Linked DNA regions of Homo sapiens: region 2 is linked to region 1. The links are contacts of gene promoters, found by promoter capture Hi-C in blood cells and fetal thymus (Javierre and others, 2016). All regions are on one chromosome and are shown on one strand. Each heading gives the region's core, a stretch centred on a gene start or on the middle of the fragment in contact. The rest is flanking DNA. Distances are from core to core; before and after follow the strand shown.

Region 1 (7,049 bases), core at 1,756-4,255:
TCCACTATGCACTCCAACACCTAAATTTAAAATACTCCCAACCACTCATCAAAAGGTCCCTGCAGTAGACATAAAAACATTTACAAATATGAACAAGCTTTTCCCCATACCTACCAAACAGCATTCTATTACCTCCACTTTTCTAATTGTTTTTAAAGTTTCAATGATCATGAAATTTGCCATTTACCAAGCTAAGAACTCTAACTTACTTACACTACATCACATACATCAATCGTACACAACATCCAAATATCTAAGTCAGATATTCTGTGATGCACGGATTTCCATGGGTCCTGTAGACCCTCTGAGAGGACTCATGAGGTCAAAAGTGTTTTCTACAGTAAGGCATTATCTGCCTGCTCACTCTGATGACATCTGCACTGTAGGTGAAAAGCAATGGTAAATTTGCTAAAGCCTTAGCAAGAACCAAGGCAGTGACTCTAAACTGCCACTGCAGCCAGAGGGAGCCAGTTTCTCTAAACAAATTTACTCCTTATGATAAAGGAGTAAAATTACTATTTTTATTAAGTCTTGATCTTTGGCCATATCTTTTTAATATTATGTGACAAAACAGGAAAGATGCATACAACAATTCTCATTTATACTAAAGTTTGCTGGTTGTGTGGAGGAAAGTAATTGAGTTGCAAGCTAAACTGGCTTTTTCACGGAATACCATTTTTACACTTAAGAACACCCGGCAAACCATGGTTCTTCAGACTTGGGTATTTGGCAGACAACTTCCCCAAACTGAACAAAGTGAGCAGATCACTTCAAGAAAATAACTGATAATATTTGTTGCCTATGATAAAATTCCAGCTTCCAAGTGGAAATTAAGTGTGGTGAACTTAGATCTGTCATCAGGAGCCTGACAGTTTCCTAATGCTTACAGATGTTTCTCAGATCAGTGGATATTAAATGAAGTGATCTTTTCATATTTTGTAATGAAATGTGTCAACAGGTGGGAGACCTGCATAATTCAGTAACCCAATGTTTTCCAAATGATCGATCAGTGAGTATTTTTAACGTTTCTCAGTTTTAACTTCTAATATGGTAAATACGGATAGAAATAACACATAAACAAAAGTCCTTCAAGATCTTCAGTAACTTTTAAGAGTGTGAAGGGGTCCTGAGACCAAAAGCTTTGAGAACCAGCGGTCTAAGTTACTGCTACACAATAAAGTAAGGGAGATCATCTTCAGGAAGTTCCTAAATCATGTAATTCTTTCTCCCCCTTTTTAGTACCTTTCCAAAAGAGTCTTAGCATTCCCATCAGTGAAGAGCAGGCCTACAGACTTTTCATGTGTTGAAGAAGAGAGAAGGAGGAGGAATAGAATTTAAAAAATTGGGATTTACTATTAGAAAGGAATTTTATTACTTTTTTTTTTTTTTTTTTAGAGACAGGGACTCGGTCTCTCACCCAGGCTGGAGTGCAGTGGCACGATGATAGCTCACTGCAGCCTGAACTCCTGGGCTCAAGCGATCCTCCCGCCTTGGTCTCCCAAGCAGCCGGGACTAGACGCGCGCACCACCACACCTGGCTAGAAGGAATTTTTTTTTTTTTTTGAGACGGTGTCTCACTCTGTCGCCCAGGCAGGAGTGCAGTGGTGCGATGTCGGCTCACGGCAACCTCCGCCTCCCGGGTTCAAGTGATTCTCTGGCCTCAGCCTCCTGAGTAGCTGGGATTACAGGCGCGCACCACCACGCCCAGCTAATTTTGGTGTTTTTAGTAGAGACGGGGTTTCACCATGTTTGCCAGGCTGGTCTCGAACTCCTGACCTCAGGTGATCTGCCCACCAAAGTGTGGGGATTACAGGTGTGAGCCACCGCGCCCGGCGGCCCTTCCTCCATGTTTCAGTTGGGCACAAACCCTTCGTAAGGCGACAGAAGGGAACTCTCAGGAGCACTGGGGCACGTCCGCAGAATGCCAACAGGTAGGAGCGGGGATAGGGGGCAGTTAGGTAAACTGGAGGGAAACAGGGTCAGTCGGGGGAAAACAAACAAAGCCTCGGGTTTTCCTGCAATTCCCACACCTGCATCCCTAAGGCTCCCAAGTGGTTACCGGAAAGAAGGCCGTGAGTGTAAGTTGCCCGGGTCCTTGGCGTTTTGAACAAAGAATTGGACAAAACGCACAAAAAAAGTAACAAAACACAGGAATGAAGCAGCAAAAGTAGGGACTTATGAACGCGAGAAAGCACTCCACAGGGTGTGAGTGGGCCCGAGCAAGCGGCTCGAGGCCCCGGTTACAAAGTTTTCCGGGTTTTAGGTACTCCTTCTGAGGTCCCTATCAGCTACCCCGTATCTGGATGAAGGGTTCGGTCTGTGGCTAAAGACTGAGGTGAACTGGCGCCCTATGCAGATGAAGGGATGGCCCGTGATTGGCCCACGGCCAATGCAGGGCACGTTCCCTTCCCATCTGAGAGGTGGTGGAAAGGCAGGGATGCGGGGAGAGCCGCAGCCTGAAGCCTTTGCTACTCGGTGGTGGGAAGATGAGGATTTTTCTTTTGGTTTGGCTTTTGGACGTGGGCGTTAATTGGCCTCAGGTTCCCGCCCCCAGACCCAGGTGTTTTCCTTTTGATCCAGCTTTGGGAAGTCAGCACGAATTGTACTCAAGTTCCCTGCTCTCAGACCCTATTCTCCAGCCTCAACAGTGAGACGCCAAGGGTTGGATCTAAGGGGGCCTACCAGGGGTAGTGGCAGGACACTCGCTAAGCCCCGTCCCCGCCCCGAATCCTCTGAGTATCGTCACCCTCACCCCAAAACCCCGACACACATACTCTCACTCTTACATCCCGACCCCCACGACCGCAGGGTCCTCACCACCAGCAGGTTCCTGTCCTCCACCAGCTGCCGCTTCCGAAGGATCTCTGATTTCAGAATGTCCATCTCGCCGCCAGAATTTAAGCTCCAGTTTCCCGCTCCAGCTCCTCGAACCCAGCCTCACTGGGCCGGCGGCCGCGAACCCACTGAGTATACGGAACAACAAGCCCAAACACCTGAGAACAACTGACAGGAGCCGCTTCCGGCGGAAGCTGGGATGAGAGAGATGAGGGAAGAGAGTGGCCCGGGGCGCCTGTGGTGGCCAAAGCAGCTGTGCGTGAGTGCCCACTGGCGGCGCCCTCCGGCAGCGCGCCTGTAGTTTCCCCTCGTAGGGAGGTTTACGTGAACGTGGACGGAAACCCGGGTCTTTGTAGTACTCTCTGCACCTGCTAGTTGAGTTCCAAAAGCCTCTCGAAGAACACCTCAATAATGCCAGTTAAATCAAGATCTTTATTAACTGGAAATTTACATTAGGGTTTCTGAAGTTACTTGCTTGCAAAATTTGCAAAAGGATGAGAAAAATCTAAACAATAATACTAACTTGTAACAATAGAGTGAAAGGGCTGTCTGTTCATTACTAGCCTGTTAAATTTCCTGTGAACTTAAACGACTACAACCATTTAAAGCAGTTTGGAAGTCAATTTATCTTCACTCCCTCTGTTTTAGATTGCTTACCAATCTTGGTGATAATTGAACATTTACCTCAAGCTAACTAATCATTTTTTGGTCATGTGTTCAGCAATCAAGATTTTTCAGTGACATGATTGGAGATGTAATCAGAAATTCCTTTTTTTTTTTTAAATCCAACCCAAGGGAAAAAAAGTTAAATTGAAGAGAAAAATTATGTCAGAGATTTTTTAAGTCCCTAACATTTGTTTACAGTGGACTTATTTTTTTCATGTCATTGAAGCACGTTTAAAAATTGTTTTTGTGAAATCATAATTGAACAATATTTGACATTTCGTTTTTCTTACTCAAAAAAGGTAAGAAATATCATTTTGTTGAGTCAGCTGATAATGGGTAAAATGCTTTACAAAACAAAAAAATGAACAATTGAATTATTTCAATTTAGAAAGTCTTTTGTGGGGGGTGATACTTCATCTAAAAGATATCTGAGGCCAGACGGGGTGGCTCACCCCTGTAATCCCAGAACTTTGGGAGGCCGAGGTGGACAGATCACCTGAGGTCAGGAGTTCAAGACCAGCCTGGCCAGCATGGTGAAATCCCGTCTCTACTAAAAATACAAAAATTAGCCAGGCGTGGTGGCAGGTGCCTATAGTCCTAGCTACTCAGGAGGCTGAGACAGGAGAATTGCTTGAATCCGGGAGATGGAGGTTGCAGTGAGCCGGGATCATGCCACTGCAGTCCAGCCTGGGTGATAGAGCAAGACTTTGTCTCAAAAACAAAACAAAATAAAATAAAATATACCTGACTTTTGCCAGAAATAAGCCAACACAGGAAAATGTCCTTGAACTAAATATGGCAACACTCTTGCATGAATATGGGTTTCCCTCACTAATCAATGAGCAAATAATAATTTATTAGCATTTTCCTGATTTAGGGATTAGGGATTGTTAGACACAAAAAAAACCTGAAGGGTTAAGACAGATGACAGTAACAGCAATGGAAGTTTACAGAGAACACAACGGCTGGCTACCTGGGAAACTGTCAGTGTAAACCAGAGAAGTTACTAGCTACAGTTAACAGCCTCCCCTTACATTTTAGACTTTCATTGATTTCTACGTTTATGTAAACATGTGCACTGAATCCTGATTAAGGCCTGAGATCAAAGAGTGATAGAGAGAAATACTTGAACAAGCAACTGACAAGCAAGCTTTTCCATTCAAAAGGAAGGAAAAAAGATATCCAGGAGCTTTTAGAAATACTTAAAAGAGGCCGGGCACAGTGGCTCACGCCTACAATCCGAGCACTTTGGGAGGCCAAGGCAGGCGGATCAGCTGAGGTCAGGAGTTTGAGACCAGCCTGGCCAACATGGTGAAACCCTGTCTCTACTACAAAAATAGCCGGGCTTGGTGGCACACACCTGTAGTCCCAGCTATTCAGGAGGCTGAGGCAGGAGAATCGCTTTAACCCGGGAGGCGGAGGTTGCAGTGAGCCAAGATCGCGCCACTGCACTCCAGCCTGGGTGACAGGGCAAGACTCTGTCTCAAAAAAAAAAAAAAAAAAAAAAAAGAAAAGAAAAGAAACACTTAAAAGAACAAATCGCCGTGACCCTAAGAGAGACCATATTCATTTAAAAAAACATGCATCCCATTTCATCACAATCATTATTTAAAAAGTGAAATATTGGGACTGGGTACAGAGGCTCACACTTGTAATCCCAGCACTTTGGGAAGCCAAGGCAGGAAGATCACTTGAACCCAGGAGTTCAAGGCTGCAGTGAGCATTGATCGCACCACTGCACTCCAGCCTGAGTGGCAGAGTAAGACACTGTCTCTAAAACAAAAATAAATAAATGAGAGATAAAAATGAAAAATTGGAAACAACCCAAGTGTTCTAAATGGAGGAATAGTTAAATAAAATATAGTTTATACACACAACCAAATAACATGGCATCATTAAAAACCATGTTTTTAAAAATTCAATGGTATGGGAATGCTCATGATACAATGTTCGGTCCAAAAGTAGCATAATGAAACTTTATAGCATATAGTCTCTGCTTTTTAACAAAAACATAGACATATGCTTCTTAACAAAAACATATAGACGTAATAAAACATTGATTGGAAGGAAACATACCAAAATATCAAGTTTTTATCTGGACAGTAGAACAATTGGGGATTCTTATTTTCTGCTTTTTACCACAATTTGGTACAAATCTCATAATATGGGGGGAAAATTCAGGTATCAGTCTTTTTCTGTTTAATTATTATTTAGACTATTTATAAATTTTCTAGCATGTCTATTTTAGACATTGTATATGATAAATTTTGAAGAGTATAAAAGAAAGCAAAGAATTAGATAAAGAATTTTTTAAATTTCCATAGTTATTCAATCTAATATTTAAATATCTTATATATGAGCTCTATACTACATTAGCTTCTGTGACCTAAACCAAAACATAGACCCTGCCCACAAAGAGATAGCCAGTTAGTTGGGGAATCAAGAAATAGACCTTAAAAAGTTAAATTTTGTAAGATTTAATAGTGTATATGTGGCTATAATTTCAGAAATTAAAAATCAGTCATCTTCTAAAAGAAAAAAGGGTAAAAATCAGTACAGGATTGATGAGATATTCCTCTGTAGAGGTAACTCATCCTAGGAAATTATTTGTCATTTCTGGAGACTGGAGGGAAATGCCAAATTGAATCAGGATCACCTGGATTTGTTTTGTGGCTGCCCTAAAAGATGGAATGTAACTTAAACAGCAAAGAAAAGCTCTATGATTCAATACAGTGGCTCTCAATCCTTAACATGCTTCAGGATAACCTGGAGGACTTTTTGAAACACAGACGGCTGGTCCCCAACCCCAGAAATTGTCTTTCCATAGGCTTGGGGTGGGACCCAAGATTTTGCTTTTTGAACAAACTCCCAAGGGAGATGGATGCTGTTGATCCAGGGACCTCATTTTGAGAACTGCCGACCTAATATATTATTTTGTCATCTCCTGCGGGGGAAAAAGTGCATTTGCAGTCTGAAATGCAGTCTGCACAAGTCTTCAGAATTGGAGCAGAGCGGGAAGGCTGGTCGGTGGTGTCTGCAGCACGGTCACAGGCACCTCAAAGGGCACCCGTCCACTCCCAGTAATGCTGCTTCTGGGAATTTCCTAATGGCAAGGGAGCAGGCTCCCTCCAGATCCAGCCACCTTTACAAAACTGCTTTGTAGGGTTAGACCACAGAGAATGACTTCTCCAATCTGGGACAATCAGAGTCCCTTCCCTAGAAAACTAAAACTGGAATGGAGTGGATCCTTCCAAGACTCAGGATATATAAAATGTGAATTCCAGAGTGATAGCCACTTCAGCCAGGCTGGTGCATACCGTCCCACAAGAGCCAATTGTTACATTTTTGAGAATTTTGTGTCAGTTGTCAAACTTAGCAATTATTAAAAATCAAATGAGTTTACTTGTAATCAAATAAATCATATTATAAACGAAGTTAATAAATACACAGAACCTAATTCTTATTTTACTACATTTTTACTCTTATGCTCTTGGAGTTATTTATGACTGTTGTATCTTTGTGGTGGAAATACTATAAAATGGTGGCTC
Region 2 (7,049 bases), core at 2,337-4,836, 600 kb before region 1:
GAAATGTGACATTTCCGTTTTCTGGAAGTTTGGTTTGTGATTAATAAGACAAGGTCTCTGGACCCGAAAGTGTTAAGTAAAAATATCAGCAAAGGCTCACTAATGCTTCCATTGCACAGTTCCTGATGTGAGGCACATCACTTGGTGCATTAGTCTCAGTTGATGGATTGATTAATTAAGAGGCAACCTATCAGGGAGAAAGCAAGGTAAAGTACTGTTCATTGGTTTACAGACAGTCTAATGTATTTAGAAATCATCAGGAGTAAGACTGTGTTCTTCCCAAGATCATGATTACCAGAAATCCCATTCAAACAAAAAATAAAATTAGCCATGGATGGCCCAGGGTAGAATTTCTGAAAACAGTATTTAACTTGACCTAGATATTGACAAGGATAACAGTGCAGTCCTTGATGTTGGAGTCAGCAAATACACGCTGTTACTCTTTATTTCTTTTTGTGGCATTACTGTCTGTGCAAATATATTTAGTTCATATTGCTATGTACACAGCAGTGACAACTGCACCCTATTGGTGTGATTAGAAATGCAACAGTGAATAAATAAATCATCCTTTGTGACCCCTGGAAGAAAAAGTTGATGCAAAAATGCTTAAAAACTCTTTGAAGGAATTCATTACGTTTTAGAATTCAGTAACCTAGAGGGGAGATGTTCATTCCTGGAAACTCACAGAATAAAATCACACCTTGGTAATACCATGTTCACTGATGTACTTGAGCTTATTGTATAATACTGTGGAGGGAACAAGAAGGCTCTTCTTTGGAGAGGTTTAAGGAGGAGATGAAAATACATAAGTCCAAGAGATCCTGAAGCTCTCTTAAGGAAAGAGGTTAAAAAAAGAAGGTTCTTAATACACATGAAGATTTGGAGAGGCTGATGCTGCAAGAATAAAAGGAATGTGGAGGAATTTATCTCACAACAGTGCACCACTGTAACAGGTTTCTTTTAGCAGAGTTTTGTTATGTGAATGTATATTTCCTGATATTTACACTTTCCCATTTTTGCTTCTAAGCTAATTAGGTTATAAGAGCTGTTACTCTAAACAAGTTAATCAATCTCTTTCAACATCTTCCAAATAAGATAAGCAAAACAGGTGTGTGTGGATACACACTGATATTCAAAATGGTCTGTGTATACAGCTACACAAAACCCAGTTAGCAATTCTTACAAAGAAAAAAGTGGAGAATTAGATATGTTATTCTCCATCCAAAAGAATGATTTCATATAAAGCCTAGAAAAGTCAGTGAATTGGAATTCCCTTGGATGATAAGGGGATGGTGACTTTCAGGGATAAAAACCACCAAGGAGGTAGCTGTGCACCTTTGGCTGGGGCTCAGAATTGTTGATTATTAGCAACTCTGGCTTAAAGTGTGGTCAGTTAAGACCAGTGGAGGTTAAAGCCTGGTTGAAATGTCAACCGGGGATGTGAAAAAGTGGTCTGGTGGAAGTGGAGACAGTGAGTGAGAAAATAATTTTAATTATAGAATAAAGAAAAAACAGGAAGCAAGAATGAAGAAACATCTAGGAAAGTATAGAAAGAGTTGTAATCACTCATGAGGAGATGAAGCATTTGCCAGGAGAGAGAGAGAGAGAGAGAAAAAAAAAAAACAGCCAGTTGAGCTGAAAACTCCTATCTAAATATGAAAGCAGGGAATATATTCTGAGGCTGGAAATATTCATCAATGTGTTAAATGTCACACATTCTAAAAATATGAGATAGATTTCAACGGCCCTATAGTTAAAGACTGATGATTGGAATATCGCTTTTATGATGCCATAGCAATTCACATGGTTCTTAAGTCTCCATAGCAACAGCCGATACTACTTTTTGTTCTCTTGTGTAGTCACATGATGCTGGATGCACTGCATAAACAGAGGGGAGCGGTCGATTGTATTTCTCAATTAGTGACAGAGAGACCAGGGGTCATGAGACAGGACTTTTATTGGGATTGGTCCTGGGTCTTGTAAACTATGGCTGTCCCTTGATATCCTTTCTCTTAGGAGCTGGCACTTCTACTGGCTGTTCACCTTTGACCCCATTAGCCTCTGCTTTCTCTCAACGACTGTTGTTTTATGAGTTGTGTGTCCATTTAGATAAAATTCTCTCAAAGCAGAAGACCCTTTCTGTTTGGGATTCCCAACTGAAACCATGCCCCAAAGAGTTAAAGAAGCCAATGGCTAACTTCTTGGGCTTAGAGGATAACACACATAAGAAAAGCAAAAACTTGCTGAAAAGCTGAAACTGAGACTATGCCCCCAAGAGTACAACCAGTAACTAACAAAAATTCTTGAGTGTGCAGGTTAACATATAAGACAAGAAACCTCTCACTGCGACACTAAAACTCTCTCCACCTGTGAGATAAAAGAACTGGCTAAAGTTGGTTGGAACCAATATGGCTGACTGGGGTCTGCACGGAACCAGCTTGCTGACCTCACAGCCTGAATTCCCACCCATGTTTCACACTAACTTCCTCCAAATTTGCACACAAAGCCCCAGGAGGCATCACGAATAGATAACTGCGCATGCCCAAGGACTTTCCAGACTTCCTGCTTCCTTCCATCAGTCACCTGCTTATCCCCAAATCCACCCCCTGAAACTTTTCCATTAAAAAATACTGCCTTGGAGCCAGCACAGATAGACAGATTTGAACTTGACTCCTGTCTCCTTGTGAGTAGACTTGCAATATAAAGCTTTTCTTTTCTCAAAAATCCAGTGTTGACAGATGCCGGGGCTCACGCCGGTAATCCCAGCACTTTGGGGGACCAAGGTGGAAGGATTGCTGGAGGCCAGGAATTTGAGGCCAGACTGGGCAACACAAGAAAACTCCAGCTCTACAAAAAATTTATTAGCCAGGTGTGATAGCATGTGCCTGTGGTCTCAAATACTTGGGAGGCAGAGGTGGTCTCAGCTACTCGGGAGGCAGGATCGCTAGAGCCTTGGAGACTGAGGCTGCAGTGAGCTATGATGGCACCACTGCACTCCAGCCTGGGCAACAGAGCAAGACCCTGACTCTAAAAAATGAACAAAAAACAAACAAACAGAAAACCCGGTGTCATAGTATCGGCTTCCAGCACATCCAGCAGTGAGCCCTTTTTTCTGGTAATACAGTTGTCTTGAAAATGGTAGAACTACCAACATGAGAGGGGTGGTCATTTGCTGTGAAGAAACTACTGTTTTCACTTCAGGATGAGCAACAAACTCGTCTGCTAGGGCGAGGGCATACTGTTGCATCAGAATCTGTTCCACAGTTTTTCTGTCTGTAAAATGGGAGTGATAACCAAAACCGTTTTCTTAGTCAAAGGGTAGTGTCTATGAGACATTTAGACAAGTTTTGTCAAATATATTTTGGAAAGTGGTGTACGTGTGGGGAGAACCTGATTTACTGCCTTAGGCTTATGTATTAGAGGTATCAAGGTGCTTCATGTTTTAGCCTAGAGTCAGAGAGCGCCCTATGAAGTTTGCAAGCATAATTAAGATAGATAGAAATCTCTCCTGAGCTCTCATTAAATTTATAAGGATTTTCCTACTGAGGCCGACTCAAATTCCCAACACTTTTGCCATTGTTCTCATTAATGAGCATCAGGCTGAGTTAAGATCTGTCTAAACTCACCTTGACATTGGCTGTTTTTCAGTGGCAGTCAGAAGTTTATGGGCTCTAGTCCTAAGTGATGACACTAACATCTGTTACCCTGACTGAATCAATTCCCTCTTTTTGTTTATTTTTTTCTTTATAGGAGAGGATATTTATACAAGAACAAAGAATGTTACTTGGTACAGAGAAGGCAGTCTGTAAATATTCATTATCTTCCTCCTCTTTTTTCTTTTTTGAAATGGAGTTTCACTCTTGTTGCCCAGGCTGGAGTGCAATGGTGCAATCTCAGCTCACTGCAACCTCCGCCTCCCAGGTTCTAGCAATTCTCCTGTCTCAGCCTCCCGAGTAGCTGGGATTACAGGTGCCCGCCACCACACCTGACTATTTTTTGTATTTTTAGTAGAGACCAGGTTTCATCATATTGGTCAGGCTGGTCTTGAACTCCTGACCTCAGGTGATCCACCCACCTCTGCCTCCCAAAGTGCTGGGATTACAGGCGTGAGCAACCGCGCCGGGCCCATTCTCTTCCTCCTCTTACCCCTTTTTCCACCTCAAATTCTTGCATTTCTGGCATTTTGCTATTGGGATTTCAAAGGTTTGCCAATGATGTAGGCATGTTTGGAGCTAAGGGTGACATCGTAGCAATGCTGCAGCATCATCACTGACGCGAGATGTTAAGCTCTCACTGTCTATAGGACACCATACACAGAGGTGGAAATACACAGCCATGAGACCTTGTGCTTGAGGGTTAAAATACAGATCAGGGTTAAAAGATAACAGCACAAGGTAACTTAAGCTAAATGTCAAACAGGCAGTGAAGACAAACAGAGGTGAGCTGGGTTGCTCAGGGAAAGCTTCCCAGAAAGGAGTTGTTTTGGGCGGGATTTTGTTTGGTTTTGTTTTTGAGACAAAACCTCGCTCCGTTGCCCAGACTGGAGGTCAGTGCTGCAATCACCGCTCATTGCTGCCTTAACCTCCCAGGCTCAGGCGATCCTCCCACCCCAGCCTCCCAAGTTACTGGGACCACAGGCGCATGCCACTGGTGCTCAGCTAATTTTTTGATTTTTCGTAGGGACGGGGTCTCACTATGTTGCCCAGGTTTGTCTCAAACTCCTGGGCTTAAGTGAGCCTTCCACCTCAGCCTCTCAAAGTCTGAGCTACTGTGCGCAGCCAAGGAAAGGAGTTGATGAGGACTTTGAAGAAAGCTAATGTCTATTGAGGGCTTATTAAGTAATGGACATTGGGTCTTGGCCTGCTTTATCTCTTTGATTAAAGTTTGGATTCTGGAAAAGGACCTAAAGGTAGAAAGGTGGGACTGATTGAAGAGGGAATGATTGGATAATGAGTTTGGCAGGCGGGAGGCAAATAGGAAAGGAGACGGCACATGATTCTAAAAGCCAAAGTGAAGAGCTTGTATAATGAGAAGCTATTATACATTTTCAATAGGGAGTGCTATGTGCCCAATTGTAGGATTTCAGTGGGAAGCATTCAAGTCTGAGAAAAGCAACCAAACCACACAAAGAGCCCAGGCAGCAAGCAGGTCATGGGTCCTTGGCACAGGGGGAGAGGCAGGCGTCCAGAAAGGTTGACTTGAGAATCCAGTCATTTTTTATTTGATTCCAGGCATTTTGTGGAAAAGGTCCAGTAAGTAATGAAATAAGTCATTTTTACATGAAAAACAAAAGGCTGACCAGAAGAAAGATTAGCATCAAGGACAGCACCTGGAGAGTCTAAGGAAGGAGCTCCTTTGGGGGAAAGGAGGTTAGAGTTTTAAGTGTATTCAGCATGGAGAGGCTACAAGGAGGTGGAGATACCTTCCCAATAGGACACTAGAGATGGGAAAATTGTATTGTGGGAGCTGCCTGAATGCATTCCATCGTCATCTCCCGGGAAAACTGGGAACCCCACTGTCCCAAGGCCCATAAAGCTAATGGCATGTTTTATGTCTCTGTTTTACATCTTTATTTCCCCCTAGTGAAATATGGAATCAAAGAAAACCAAATTTCCCAAGTCTACTTCTAACCCCCAAAATAAATATTTTACCAAGTATTTATTGAGTTCCTTCTCTGTGACAGCATTCTGCTCATTGCTGCCTTAACCTCCCAGGCTCAGGCGATCCTCCCACCCCAGCCTCCCAAGTTGCTGGGACCACAGGCGCATGCCACTGGTGCTCAGCTTATTTTTTGATTTTTCGTAGGGACGGGGTCTCACTATGTTGCCCTCCCAGCCACTGTATCTGGCTGATCTTTTTCTATGTCAATTTGGGGGTAAATGGAGAAAGGCATGGGATATAGGTCGAAGCAAATGTCCATGGAGCGTTCTCTAAGTCAGTCATTCCACGATAATGGCTCTGTTCCTTTATTTACAAAGGACATATATAGCCAACAGTATGTTGAAAAAGAAAGAACATCAGATTAGCAAGGTTGAGGACTTCTGTAATCTTAGGAAAGTAACCGAACTCTCTGGGACTCAATTTACTTATCTGTGAAATGATGGACTAGTTGATACACAATTTGACTGTAATATCCTATGATCTGATATCATGGAGTTAGGCTCATAATGCCTTTAAGAAATCACATCATTGCTTTTATAGAATGCAAGCTGTTTCTTGTTATAAGGAAGAGTGTCGCCCTCCCTCCCTCCCTCCCTCCCTTCCTTCTTTCCTTCCTTCCTTCTTTCCTTCTTTCCTTTGAGACAGAGCCTTGCTCTGTCACCCAAACGAGAGTACAAAGGCATGATCACAACTCACTGCTTCCCCAAACTCCTGGGCTCAGGCAATCTTCTTGCCTTAACCTGATTAGTAGCTAGGAATGTGCACCGCCACACCTGACTAATTATGTTTTTTTTTTTTTGCAGAGACGAGGTCTCAGTATGTTGCCCAGGCTGGTCTCAAAACTCCTGGGCTCAAGCAGTCTTCCCTCCCTGGCCTCCCAAAGTGCTGTGATTATAGGCATGAACCACCATACTGGTCAGAGAAGGGTATTCCTTAAGGGTACAACTTGTGTCCAAGGCCACCCTGAACAGTCAAAGCTATGATCTTCTTTGCCAGTCTCCTGGGGATCCTGGGGCTGAGCGCAACATCTGCATCCTCAGAGGCTGATAACCCTCCCTTCTCTCATGAGGATATGAAGATAGGTAAGAAGGAAGAGGATGCATGGTCTAGTCCTTGGGTCACCTGAGACTGAACAGGAGAGAAGCAGGGTCCCTAGACCATCATGTTTGTCATGGAGCCAAAGGGTCACTGCCCAGTGTGCCAAGACTATGACACCAGGTTTGTGAGAAAAGCAAAGCTTTTATTGTTCCCAGGGAGACAGGAGTCCAGCTCAGATCTGTCTCCCTCTGCTGGCTTCAAGGGAGTAGTTTTATTAGAAGAGGTTTACGGGGTGGATTCTGGGATTAGTGGGTGATCGGTGGAAGGAAAGGGGAAACCTAGAAAGGTCT

The links. The method cuts DNA at HindIII sites, captures the fragments that hold promoters and counts their contacts. A CHiCAGO score of 5 or more calls a contact.
Region 2: a contact is called between a fragment that was not itself captured here and the fragment with the promoter of PRPF18 in region 1, in 1 of 17 cell types (total B cells). The highest score is 5.0, in total B cells.

Annotation. Positions count from the first base shown.
Region 1 is chr10:13,582,921-13,589,969 of GRCh38, reverse strand. PRPF18 (pre-mRNA processing factor 18) reads right to left here and starts at 3,005. Exons shown (of 10, transcript NM_003675.4): 1 at 2,818-3,005. The coding sequence starts at 2,883. RefSeq lists enhancers at 1,940-2,535, 2,711-3,050. The HindIII fragment of the contact is 3,512 bases long and covers 1,142-4,653 here.
Region 2 is chr10:14,186,369-14,193,417 of GRCh38, reverse strand. The region is part of intron 2 of FRMD4A (FERM domain containing 4A); the gene reads left to right. It overlaps LOC124902378 (a long non-coding RNA gene), which reads right to left. Exons shown (of 2, transcript XR_007062060.1): 2 at 6,956-7,049. Among named protein-coding and RNA genes, the nearest start is that of FRMD4A-AS3, 120 kb to the right of the region's middle. The HindIII fragment of the contact is 1,756 bases long and covers 2,709-4,464 here.